3 separate regions of the Homo sapiens genome follow, and regions 2 and 3 are each linked to region 1. Evidence: promoter capture Hi-C in 16 types of primary human blood cells and fetal thymus (Javierre and others, 2016). All regions are on one chromosome and are shown on one strand. Each heading gives the region's core, a stretch centred on a gene start or on the middle of the fragment in contact. The rest is flanking DNA. Distances are from core to core; before and after follow the strand shown.

Region 1 (4,042 bases), core at 762-3,261:
TGAAACCTGGTCTCTACTAAAAATACAAAAATATAGCCAGGCATGGTGGTGGCCGCCTGTAATCCCAGCTACTGAGGAGGCTGAGGCAGGAGAATCACTTGAACCTGGGAGGCAGAGGTTGCAGTGAGCCAAGATCACGCCACTGCACTTCAGCCTGGGTGACAAAGCGAGACTCCGTCTCAAAAAAAAAAAAAAAAAAAGTAACACAGGAAATAAAACCAAGACAAGATGAGCTCTCTGTGTCTCTGTGTGTCCCTCCCCAGACCCAACCCTGGCGTCCCCCAGAGGTAACCCCTCCCAGGAACTGGGCGTTTGCCACTCCCCTGCACGGGTCTACACCTCTGCTACAAACGTGTGTCCCTAAGCAGCGGACGCCTTTTGAAAACAAGTCAACTGTATCATGCTACGATATTTTTTCTGATGTTTGTGCTGTTTCTGAGACAGCCTTATGACACCTTCCCCTATTCTGTAGCATTCTGTTGGCTCACTTTGCCACAGTGTATGCACCCATTCTCCCACAAATGGACTTTTCATTTGCTTCTCAATGTTTGCTACCAAAAATCTCCCTGCAATAAATTTATTTTATATATCCCCTTGTATGTGTGTGAGGGTCCCCTAACTGCTCACAAATATCTCAGCAACTCCGCCCTCCCCACTCAGACCTCATTTCCCTCCTACCAGACATGCTCAAAGGAAACTGGGAGCAACACAAAGATGACTTTGAATCTCTGTCCACCACCCCTAGACTGTATGACACCCGCAAGTGACAACCTCCCCTCTCTGGCCTCGGTTTCCCCCTCTGTAAAATGGGGGATGGCCTACCTTGCCAGTCATGGCAGGTCAATATAAAACAACTTCTGGCTGTGCACAGTGGCACATGCCTGTAATCCCAGCACTTTGGGAAGCTGAGGCAGGAGGATTGCTTGAGGCCAGGAGTTCAAGACCAGCCTGGGCAATATAGCAAGATCCCATCCCTCTTAAAAAAAAAAAAGAAGAAAAATATATGTTGTTGTTGTTATTATTGTTATTATTAGAGACAGAGTTTCGCTTTTGTCACCCAGGCTGGAGTGCAATGGTGTGATCTCAGCTCACTGCAACCTCCACCTCCTGGGTTCAACTGATTCTCCTGCCTCAGCCTCCTGAGTAGCTGGAATAATAGGCATGTGCCACAACATCTGGCTAATTTTGTATTTTTAGTAGAGATGGGGTTTCGCCATGTTGGCCAGGCTGGTCTCAAACTCGACCTCAGGTGATTCTCCTGTCTCAGCCTCCCAAAGGGCTGGGATTACAGGCATAAGCCACCATAGCTGGCCTGTTTTTTTAAAAAAAGAATTCCAGTAAAGAGCTGATCATGGTTCTCACTCCTTGAATACCAGGAACACCATCTCGTATCACATAATGAGACAGGGAGACATTCTGGTCCTCATCTCACAGATGAAAAATGTCAAGCTTCGAAGGATCAAAGTGCCCACCTAGTCACACGGGTAGTCAGCCACAGGTCAGCCTGCCTTATTTATTCTTCATGAGTATTTATAGTGACTAACATTTACTGGGCGCCTACTGTGGGCCATTTCTGTGCATGTGACAACCCCTTTAAGTCCTTGTTTCTAATCCCAAGAAGCAAGGAAATGGGGTCAGGGAAGGGACAAGGTTTGCCCAAGTCCAGGCAGGGGGAGAGGTCAAGCTCAGAACCATCACCTGCCCATGACACATGCCCAGGACTCAGGTTCCCTAGGCTTCCTTCCAAAGGCTCAGCAGTGACGAGCCAGCCCTTGAACCAGCCTCTTCCCCCACCCAAGCAGCCACCTCTCAGGGGAATTGTGGCCACCACAGGTGCAGGGAGCAGTTTCTCTCCACTCACAGCCTGAAGCATACCCGGCAGGGGCTGTCCCCAGGCCCAACAAGCAAAGGGCCCAGTAGCGAGGGCCACTGGAGCCCATCTCCGGGGGGCTGGGCAGGAAGTAGGGTGGGGTTTGGGGTAGGGATCTGGTACCCTGGGACTGCTGCAACTCAAACTAACCAACCCACTGGGAGAAGATGCCTGGGGGTCCAGGAGTCCTCCAAGCTCTGCCTGCCACCATCTTCCTCCTCTTCCTGCTGTCTGCTGTCTACCTGGGTATGTGGCCAAAGGGCAGGAACTGGCGGGAGGTGGGGGAAGCTGTGGAGGCTGCAGAGAGGGCACAGGCAGAGGGAAGGGGGCTCAGGGAAAGGGGAAGAGGAGGCAGAGGATAGGGGACCCAGGGAAGATGCCTATAGAAATCGTATCTGTGCCAAGATGGGCCAAGGTGGGGCTGGAGGGAGCCCAGCGAAGGAGAAGGGGCGTCCACAGTCTCACACAGGGAGGCAGGAGCAAGAGTCACCTCCCCCACCTCCTGTTCCCCACAGGCCAAAATAAGGAACTAAAGTTGCTCTTGACTGAGCACCAGGGCTGGGGGCAGGAAGGGGACTTAGGGGTAGCAGCATTCAGCGTCTGTCAAGGGGAGAAAAAGCTTTCTCTGCCTTAAACCTCAGGTGCCTCTCTCTGTTGGGAGTCCCTTCTCAGCACTGGGGGAATGGGTGTCTCATGGACTCCCCCTCACCTGCTCAAGGACAGCTGGCAGGGGCTGTGGCCACGCTAACCCAGGAGTTCAGAGAAAAAGGTTCCCCACCCAAGGGGACACTGGGAGCAAGGATTGGAGTTCACGTCTGAGTCTTAAGCCCGTGACGATGAGGGTGCTCGGCCCCTCTCCCCATCTCTTCCTCCTTCTCTCTTCCTCACCTCCCTCCTCCACCTACCTCCAGAAGAGGGGACTGGCCATGTGGGAGGCCTGGCTGAGAGCTGGGGCTTCCCAGAGGAGCCCGGATTGGACACTGCAGCCAGCCTGAGCCGCCTCGTCTCACTCAGAGACACCCCCAGTCTCCACCCCGCTCTGAGCCCCTTCAATCACCAGCAGCCCAGCCCAAGGACTGAACTCACCCCTGACCCCTAGGTTGACACATACAACTTACAGAGAATGAGGGCCAGGCACAGGGTCACAGGCCAGGGCAGGCCACAGACTGGCTCCTCAGCCCAGGCAGGGAGAGGCCAGGGAGCCAAGAGTTTGAACCCAGTGCCACTCCTGACTGCCTGGTGATGCTGGCAACCCGCCTGCCCTCCCAGAGCCTCAGCCATCCCTCCTGTAAAATGGGGCTAAGGAGAGAACCTACTTCTAGGGTTCTGTGAATGATTACACAAGAAAAAGCGCCAGGTGCTGGGCCTGGCTGAGGCTGGGGTGCAAAAATGGACCGGGAAGGCTGCGGGAGGAGGGGACGCCTGCACTGCTTCTGGAAGGAGCTGTCTGGACAGCGGTCCTCCAGTGCCTGGAACAAACATCCAAAATCCAGAGAGTTCACAGGGCCAGAGTACAAAGTGGGTATGCGGGAGGGGGGCAAGAGATGGCGCTGCAGAGGTGAGAAGGGCCTCCCAGGGGTCTTACCATCCCAGGGAGTCTCATTCTCCTCTCCCAGGATATCCTCACCCACCCCAACCAGGTATGTCCTCTCTCCTTCCCAGGGGCTTCTTCACTTTCCCGCATCCCCCCTCTCCCCAGGATGTATCAGCCCCTGTCAGGGGCTCTCTCTCTCCCTCCCCACCCAGGAGAGTCCTCACCCTCTTCCCAGGAGTGCTGGAACTGCAGGGGCCAGGGCTGGGGAAATGTGTCACCATCCCCAGTCCCTGACCCACCCACCCTGTCTCTCCACAGGCCCTGGGTGCCAGGCCCTGTGGATGCACAAGGTCCCAGCATCATTGATGGTGAGCCTGGGGGAAGACGCCCACTTCCAATGCCCGCACAATAGCAGCAACAACGCCAACGTCACCTGGTGGCGCGTCCTCCATGGCAACTACACGTGGCCCCCTGAGTTCTTGGGCCCGGGCGAGGACCCCAATGGTACGCTGATCATCCAGAATGTGAACAAGAGCCATGGGGGCATATACGTGTGCCGGGTCCAGGAGGGCAACGAGTCATACCAGCAGTCCTGCGGCACCTACCTCCGCGTGCGCCGTGAGTGGCCCAGCCCTGGC
Region 2 (4,042 bases), core at 712-3,211, 240 kb after region 1:
GGCCTGTTGGCTGAAGCACACACAGTGGTGGGAGAAGGCATGGCCTGATGGATCACACACCCTCAGGCCTAAAGTGGACAGTGAGTTTATCCTTCAGCCTGATAGCCCAACACCATTTTGTAAAAGGAAGTCCAGAGACAGAAAGCAACTTGGGCAAAATGACACAGTGTGTTGGCAGGGGGGTGATATTTGGAATGTGGACAGAGACAAACAGAGGCCAAGGAAAGGCCAAATAATAGACAGTGAATGGCATGTCCCAAATTATGGAATATAAGTATTAGAAAGTTTAAGAGCTACAGAGGCCAAGTGTGGTGGTTCATGCCTGTAATCGCAGCATTTTGGGAGGCTGAGGCAGGAGGATTGCTTGAGGCCAGGAGTTTGAGACTAGCCTGGGCAACAGAGCAAGACACCGTCTCTTAAAAAAAAAAGAGAGAGAGAGAGGTTAAAAAAAAAAAAGTGCTGCAGAGATGCAGCATGAAATGACACTGAGTATGAGAAGTCAGGGTAGCAGCTATCCCTGGCAGGGGCATTAAGGGCCTCTGGAAGGCTGGTCGTGCTCTGCTTCTTGATCTGGTGCTAGTGACATGGGTGTGCTAAGTTTCTGAAAGTTCACAGAGTCATACATTGAAGATCTATGTGTGTTTTTAATGTGTATCATATTTTAATACAAAGTTTTTTTAAAAATAGGCTGAGCGCGGTGGCTCGCCCCTTAATCCCAGCACTTTGGGAGCCAAGGTGGGAGGATCACTTGAGGTCTGGAGTTCGAGACCAGCCTGGCCAACATGGTGAAACCCCATCTCTACTAAAAATACAAAAATTAGCCAGGCATGGTGGCACACACCTGTAATCCCAGCTAATTGGGAGGCTAAGGCAAGAGAATCACCTGAAGCCGGGAGGTGGAGGTGCAGTGAGCCAAGATGGTGCCATCGCACTCCAGCCTGGGCGACAGAGCGAGACTCCGCCTCAAAAATCGCTTGAACCCAGGAGGTGGAGGTTGCAATGAGCCGAGATCATGCCATTGCACTCCAGCCCGGGTGACAGTGCGAGACTCCGTCTCAAAAAAAAAAAGTTTTAAAAAAATAATGTTGAATGCCATGGTGAGCACACTATTCCCTTTTCAGTGCTTTTTTCATTGTTTCTGGTTATCTTAAAGTCTCTGATTGGTGCTTGAATGTCTTTACCATCTCTCCAATACTAGCTAATCTCCACTTTTATTTTAATTTTTTTTTTGAGACAGGGTCTTGCTCTGTCACCCAAGCTGGAGTGCAGTGGCACCATCAGGACTCACTGCAGCCTCAACTTCCCAGACTCAAGCGATCCTCCTGCCTCTGTCTCAAGTAGCTGAGACTACAGGCATGCACACCCAGCTAATTTTTGTATTTTCTGTAGAGACAGGGTCTCACTATGTTGCCCAGGCTGGTCTTGAACTCCCGGGCTCAAGCGATCTACCCACCTTGGCCTCCCAAAGTGTTAGAACTACAGGCTTGAGCCACTGCATCTGGCCTAATCTCCTTTTTTTTTTTTTTTTGAGCTGGAGTCTTTCTCTGTTGCCCAGGCTGGAGTGCAGTGGTGCAATCTCGGCTCACTGCAACCTCTACCTCCTGGGCACAAGCAATTCTCCACAATGCCTCAGCCTCCCAAGTAGCTGGGATTACAGGCACTCACCACCATGCCCGGCTAATTTTTGTATTTTTAGTAGAGTCGAAGTTTCACCGTGTTGGCCAGGCTGGTCTCAAGCTCCTGACCTCAGGTGATCTGCCCGCTTTGTCTCCCAAACTGTTGGGAATACAGGCATGAGCCACCGCGCCCAGCCCTAATCTCCTTTTTTAATAAGCCTCTTTTTAATAAGCCTCTTTTTTAACAGGCCTCTGAGGTTTAGACCCTTCGGCACACAAGAGACTCTGGGTAAATTTTAATAATCATCATATTTATTTCCATGGCAAGTGATTCTGGTTTTCCATTTGTGAAATTTCCATTTAAAAAACATTTATTTAAAAAGCTGTCGAAAAGCAAGCCAGTTCATGAGTTGGTAATTGTTGAAGCTGATTGATGGGTATCTAGGGGCTTTATTTTCATTATAACCTTCTCTCTATTTCTGTATCCACTTCACATTTTCCATAATAAGGTGCTTTTTTAAAAAATTGAGCCAATTAACAAAATTATTATGTAAATAGTTGCGCACAGTGGTCTTATGCCTGAGACTGTGACAGAAGCACATGAATCACTTCAGTTAGGGAAAGACTGACACAGAAGAGATGGAGAGAAGTTGAGAGGCAAAGCCCAGAGAAACAGGGCGTACAGGGCGAGTTGTGGACAGAGCCCGAGGCCAGGAAGGGGAGGGAGAAACCTTCATTCCCTTGGTCCCACTGGCATCCCCAAAAGAAGGAAGCCTGCTGCCAGTTTGAGAACAGACTGCAAAGATCTGATTCAACTGAGGACAGGGTGGGGGCAATGGATACACGCTGTGCTCTGAGGGCTAAGGCAATAGCCAAACCTGCCATCAGAGGGTCAAGGAGGTCAAGATCGAGAGCCTGTCTCCCCTAGACCCCGTTCAAAGCGCTCAGCACAGAAGCAGGACATCTGCTCACAAAGCACTTTTATCCTCTCCTCTCATGGTAGCATGGGGGTACACCAGACATGGAGGCAACCACAGAGGCCATCCCATCCGACTGCCCCCTCCCCCCTGACCAATGATACTGAAGAGGAAACTGAGAGGCCCAGAGAGGGGAAGTGACTTTCCCATGGTCACAGAGCAAAGCTGTAGCAGGGTGGGGAGCAGTTCCCAGCCTCCCACCCCATCCCTCAGCCACCACTGGTCAGGGTCTGGAGTCCTGCTCACACCTTCTCTGCCCCCACCTCCAGTGCTACCTTCAAGCCTCTGGACCTGCCTGCTACCCCTGGACCAGGCTGGAGGGTGGAGACTGGAGCCCAGGCAACCCCAAGAAGCCCAGAATGCCAGGCACAGGGCCCCATCTGGATGTGGAATTTGCACTGCCTGGCTGCTTCCGGCCTCCCTGTCATTCTCTCCTGCATTCCTACAGCTATCCTCAACTGGTACCAGCCCCCCCACCCCCACCTCAGCTGGCCGCTAAATGTGTATATTGGGGGACAGGCGGTGGTGCAGGCCTCTGTTGGGTCAGGGAAGTTGGGATGGGGGCGGGCCTTTGGCTTCCTGTTGTTCATCGCCCTGGGGCTCTGGGGGGGATTTCCCTAGCCACCCCCACCCCCTAGGGAAGGGGAAGGAGCCTGCGTGAGTCACAGGCCTGGGGTGGGAGCCCAAGAGTGAGAAGGGGCGGGAGGAACCTCGTTACCAAGGTACCAAGGCTCAGTGCTCTCTCAGCCCTTGGACTGAGGCAGGCCTCCTGAGGACCCTCTTCCAAGCGCTGCCCACTTCCCTGGCTGTTCTGACAGGTGCTTACCTTTGTACTGGGGCCAGTTGGGGACACGGAGAATGGGGAGGTCTTATTTTGGGGGTTCTGCAAAGAGAAAGTAGGAGCAAGGGGATGGGAATAGTGCAGTGAAGCAGCTTCTGACCACCCCCGCTCCCTGCCCTCCTACCATAGGCGGCACAGAGCCCCCTCTGAACCCCTCTCCCCATTCCTTCCCACCCCCTCCCGCTTATCCACTCCCTCCTAACCTGATGATTAGTGTCTGGTCCATTTCTTTCGGTGTCTGCAAAGAGAGGGAAAGGATGTGTTGTCATCAGCCACCCCCACCACACCTGTCCCCTCCCAGCTCTCTTCCCATCTGTCCCACTTCCCCTGCCCACGGTGACCCCTGCCCCCCTGCTCCCTGCCCACCCACCTGTGTGCTCTGATGGGGAGTCCAGACCTTGCTTCTCGGCCTCCAGGGGCTTAGACATTCTTATTTCTGGGGACAGAGGAGGAATGGAAGTGGGGTGAAGGAGGGGAATCCAGGAGGGCTCTCGGGCCCCCATTCCACCACACTCCCCAAGCCTTTCCCCCAAATTCCCCCCTTACCCCCAGCCACCTTGGAAGTGTCTCTTCCCAAGAGACATGTCCTCCGTTCTGGGCCTCTGCCC
Region 3 (4,042 bases), core at 656-3,155, 160 kb after region 1:
GGGAGGCCAAGGCGGACAGCTCACTTGAGGTCAGGAGTTCGAGACCAGCCTGGCCAACATGGCGAAACCCCGTCTCCACTAAAAATACAAAAATAGCCGGGCATTGTGGTGCATTCCTATAATCCCAGCTACTTAGGAGGCTGAGGCAGGAAAATCGCTTGAACCCTGGAGGCAGAGGTTGCAGTGAGCCGAGATCACGCCACTGCACTCCAGCCTGGGCGACAGAGTGAGACTCTGCCTCAAAAAGAAAAACAAAAACAAACAAACAAAAAAACCCTCTGTGAGGGAGGTAACATTAGCCCCTTTTCAAGAGGAGTGACTGACCTTCAGAGATAAGTGGCTTTGCAGGGATCATGTGGGAGCACTGGGGACCTGAAGCTGGCTCCTTCTGGCTCCTAACCAGTGCACTGCTATAGTGGACTCCATGGTGGCTACCCAGACTCTGTTTCAGGAGTGGGGCACTCATTGCCTCAGCTGCCCAGGGTGTAGGTGGCTGATGGCTCTCAGCTCTGTCAGTAGAAGAGCGTCCCCTCACCCAAAGTCCTGACTCTCCCCAAGAGCAGCCCACGTCCAGTGACATATCAGTGGGTGCTTAAAGGCCTGGCACCCTTACCACAGGGGGAGGTCCTTGACGGCCAGCTCAGCTCCAGAGCTGCCTGTGGGACAGCTAAGGCCCAGTTGTGACTGCAGCGCAGCTCAACTCCTCTGCCCAAGCCTGCTTCCTTCCCTCCTGCACAGGGCAGGTTTCCAGGGGCACGCCATCACACCTCCTGCCTCTACATCTCCATCTCAGAGTCAGCTTCCTGGGACCCTGACCTAAGATCTTCTTTGCCCTTGAAGGCTAAGCTTTATCCTGAGGGCCTCAGGGGCTTCAGTTAAAGCATACAAGTGACAGATCAGACTCACACTGTAGAAAGGTTCTATTGGAGGACAAGCTGGGGAGTGGAGAGACTAGAAGCCAGGAGGCCAGTAAGGAGGCTGATGAGAGGGGTGGGACCTGAATTCACACCATGGCAGTGATGGCAGGGAGAAGGCCAATGTCAGCCATGGCCACTGGGTGGAAAAAATGGGTCATAATTCAAGACAGGCCAAGGAGACCTGTGCCTGGCCCAGGGGTGACTGGCAGGATGGTGGTGCCCCAGGCTGTCTTCCATCTGGAAGTCACTCACCAGCTCTGGGCCACCCTGATGGGGTGCCCACCTTGGCTCTCCTGGTCACTAGCCATGGGCCTGGACATGAAACCTTGATGCCTCACTGTACATTTGAGAAAACGGGGCTAATACCAGTCCCTCTCTCACTGGGTGGCCATGAGGAGTCAAGGATGGAGACAAGTCAGAAAGCTCAGACAAGGGCCTGGCACAGCGTGCCACTCCATCAGTGTACTCCGAGCTTCCCAAGTTCCCAGCTGGAGGGCTGGAAAGGGCACGGGCCTTAAGTCAGACACACCTGGCTGCAGCCCTGTGCACTGGGGACTCCAGATCTCACACTGGGCAGTGATCCTCAGGCCATGAAGGACTGCTATGAAAATTATGTTAAGTAACACTTGAAAAGTTCCTCGCACATGGTGTGAAATCAACAAATGACAGCTGCTGCTGTTGTGATGACGGTGGTGACTATTCCTGTGCAGCTCGGCACACTCGGCTATCCCACAGCAGGGCAAGGCCAAACTCCGCCTATCCTTCACGCTCCAGCTCCTCCTCCAGTGTTCTCCCTGTAAATGTCATTGCCATCACCCAGATGCCCAAGCCAGACACAGGAGGAATGCTCTCCCTCCTGTCCTCTCCTGCATCCCCCACCCTAGGCAGTCACCAAGCCCTGGTGCTCTTTAGCCCTTCCCCTAGTCTCTAGCTCTGACGTTCTCCCGCCTGAGGCCCACCAGCTCATTCCTTATCTCCTCACTGGTCTTCCTGTTACCACTGCTTCCCCCAACCCCAGGGCCAATTCACTTGAGCCAGATCAAAACCCTTCAAGGGTGGCCGGGCATGGTGGCTCATGCCTGTAATCCCAGCACTCTGGGAGGCTGAGGCAGGTGGATCACCTGAGTTCAGGAGTTTGAGACCAGCCTGGCCAACATGGCGAAACCCATCTCTACTAAAAATACAAAAATTAGCCAGGTGTGGTGGCATGCGCCTGTAGTCCCAGCTACTCAGGAGGCTGAGGCAGGAGAATCATTTGAACCCACGAGGCAGAGGTTGCAGTGAGCCAAGATCACCCCATGGCACTCCAGCCTGCCTGGGCAGCAGAGCCAGAGTCCGTCTCAAAACAAAAACAAAAACAAAACTCTTCAAGGGCATCCCATGGGCTTTCTGCTGAGGCCCAAACCCTTTAGCCCACTCAGTAAGAGCACATCGGGCTTGTTCACCATGGTATCCCCAGGGTATAGCACAGGGCTTGGTATACAGTAGGCACTCAACAAACATTGGCTGAATGGAAAATGGATGAACACACAAATCTATGTATGTGCTGGCCATGCTGGTATGAATAATAACAATAATAAAAATAGTATAATCCCAGCACTTTGGAAGGCTGAGGTGGGAGGATTGCTTAAGCCCAGGAGTTCAAGACCAGCCTAGGCAACAGGGCCAGACCCCATCTCTACAAAAAACACAAAAATTACCTAGGCATTATGGCATATGCCTATAGTCCCAGCAACTCGGGAGGCTGAGGTGGGAGGATCGCTTGAGCCCAGGAGGTGGAGGCTGCAGTGAGCTGTGATTGCACTACTGCGCTCCAGCCTGGGCAACAGAGAGAGACCCAGTCTCAAAGGAAAAAAAAAAAAGGACACACGCATACAGCACCCACTATGCACCAGGCCCTGTTCTAAGTTCTTCACTGCATGTTGTTCTTCAAAACAACCCTATGTGCTAAAGGGCTGTTATTCCCCAATTTTACAGTTGAACAAACTACAACCTAAAGAAATGTTAAGCACTTGCCCAAAGCCACACAACCAGTGCACAGCAGAGCTAAGCTTTAAACAGCCAACCACAGACACTCTCAGCTGCCACACTTTGCTGGCCCCAGGCCCCAAATCCTCTCACCCTACCCTACTGAGTAGGCCCTGAGACACAAAGGTCAGACAGCTGTAAATAAGAACTGTTCCAGACTTCTCTGTTGGTGAAAAAAGGGCATCCAGTTTAGAGTGACTTCAGGTGCAGGGCTACTCCCTTGGAGCCTGCTTATTTCTGGGATACCAGATGAAAGAATATTTCTGAGCCTACGTGACTAAAGACCAGGCTGTGGAAACAGGTCACGAGGAAGCCTGTGCCCTCAGGTGGGCATAGAGCTGTCAGCTCTGGGGCTTCTCATCTCCTGTCTCACCCGGGGCCTCTTTGGGCTTCAGGCTTTAAAATTCACCCTGGGCTGGGTGTGGTGTCTCATACTTGTAATCCTAGCACTTTGGGAGGTGAGGTGGGCGGATCACTTGAGGCCAGGAGTTCAAGACCAGCCTGGCCAACATGATGAAACCTGTTGCTCCAAAAAATACAAAAATCAGCCAGGCACGGTGGCGCACCTGTAATCCCAGCTACTCGGAAGGCCGAGGCAGGAGAATCGCTTGAACCCGGGAGGTGGAGGTTGCAGGGAGGCAGAGGTTGCTGTGAGCAGAGATCGTGCCATTGCACTCCAGCCTGGGCAACAGAGGAGACTCTGTCTCCAAAATAAATAAATAAATAAATAAAATAATAATAATAATAAAATTCACCCTGACCTTAAAACTCACCCTGGGGCAGAAGTTTTCAAACCAGCTGGCAGCTTTATGGGGCAGCGCCTTGGGACCTGCCTGTGGGGTGGGGTGGGAGGCACCCCCATCTCTGCCTTCACCAGAGCAGCTCTGCTCTTGCCCAGGGTTCTGAGGGAGTTTGCAATTGGAAAAAAAGTTCTGTCAAAATAACTTTTGAAAGTCAGTGCCCTAAGGGATAAACGTCCTTGTCAAGCAAAGTGGCCCTCTCATGTCTTCCCTCGTGATGTTCAGGGGGTTGGATGCTGTAAATTCTGGCATGAGAGAGAGGAGGGTGAGAATCTCTGATGAGCTCTGTCAAGTCTA

Evidence for each region. Contacts are between HindIII fragments. The CHiCAGO score rates a contact against its expected background, and 5 or more counts as called.
Region 2: a contact is called between a fragment that was not itself captured here and the fragment with the promoter of CD79A in region 1, in 1 of 17 cell types (non-activated CD4 T cells). The highest score is 5.5, in non-activated CD4 T cells.
Region 3: a fragment that was not itself captured here is called in contact with the fragment with the promoter of CD79A in region 1 in 8 of 17 cell types (fetal thymus, total B cells, naive CD4 T cells and 5 more); the score reaches 8.1 in fetal thymus.

What each region holds. Positions count from the first base shown.
Region 1 is chr19:41,875,268-41,879,309 of GRCh38, forward strand. CD79A (CD79a molecule) reads left to right here and starts at 2,012. Exons shown (of 5, transcript NM_001783.4): 1 at 2,012-2,116; 2 at 3,723-4,022. The coding sequence starts at 2,038. RefSeq lists an enhancer at 677-746 and a silencer at 2,154-2,213. The HindIII fragment of the contact is 1,040 bases long and covers 1,448-2,487 here.
Region 2 is chr19:42,118,707-42,122,748 of GRCh38, forward strand. It overlaps POU2F2 (POU class 2 homeobox 2), which reads right to left. Exons shown (of 15, transcript NM_001394376.1): 2 at 3,805-3,870; 3 at 3,638-3,672; 4 at 3,420-3,476. Among named protein-coding and RNA genes, the nearest start is that of POU2F2, 12 kb to the right of the region's middle. RefSeq lists a silencer at 3,294-3,373. The HindIII fragment of the contact is 8,206 bases long and covers 1-4,042 here.
Region 3 is chr19:42,037,218-42,041,259 of GRCh38, forward strand. All of the region lies in intron 12 of GRIK5 (glutamate ionotropic receptor kainate type subunit 5), which reads right to left. Among named protein-coding and RNA genes, the nearest start is that of GRIK5, 31 kb to the right of the region's middle. The HindIII fragment of the contact is 2,122 bases long and covers 845-2,966 here.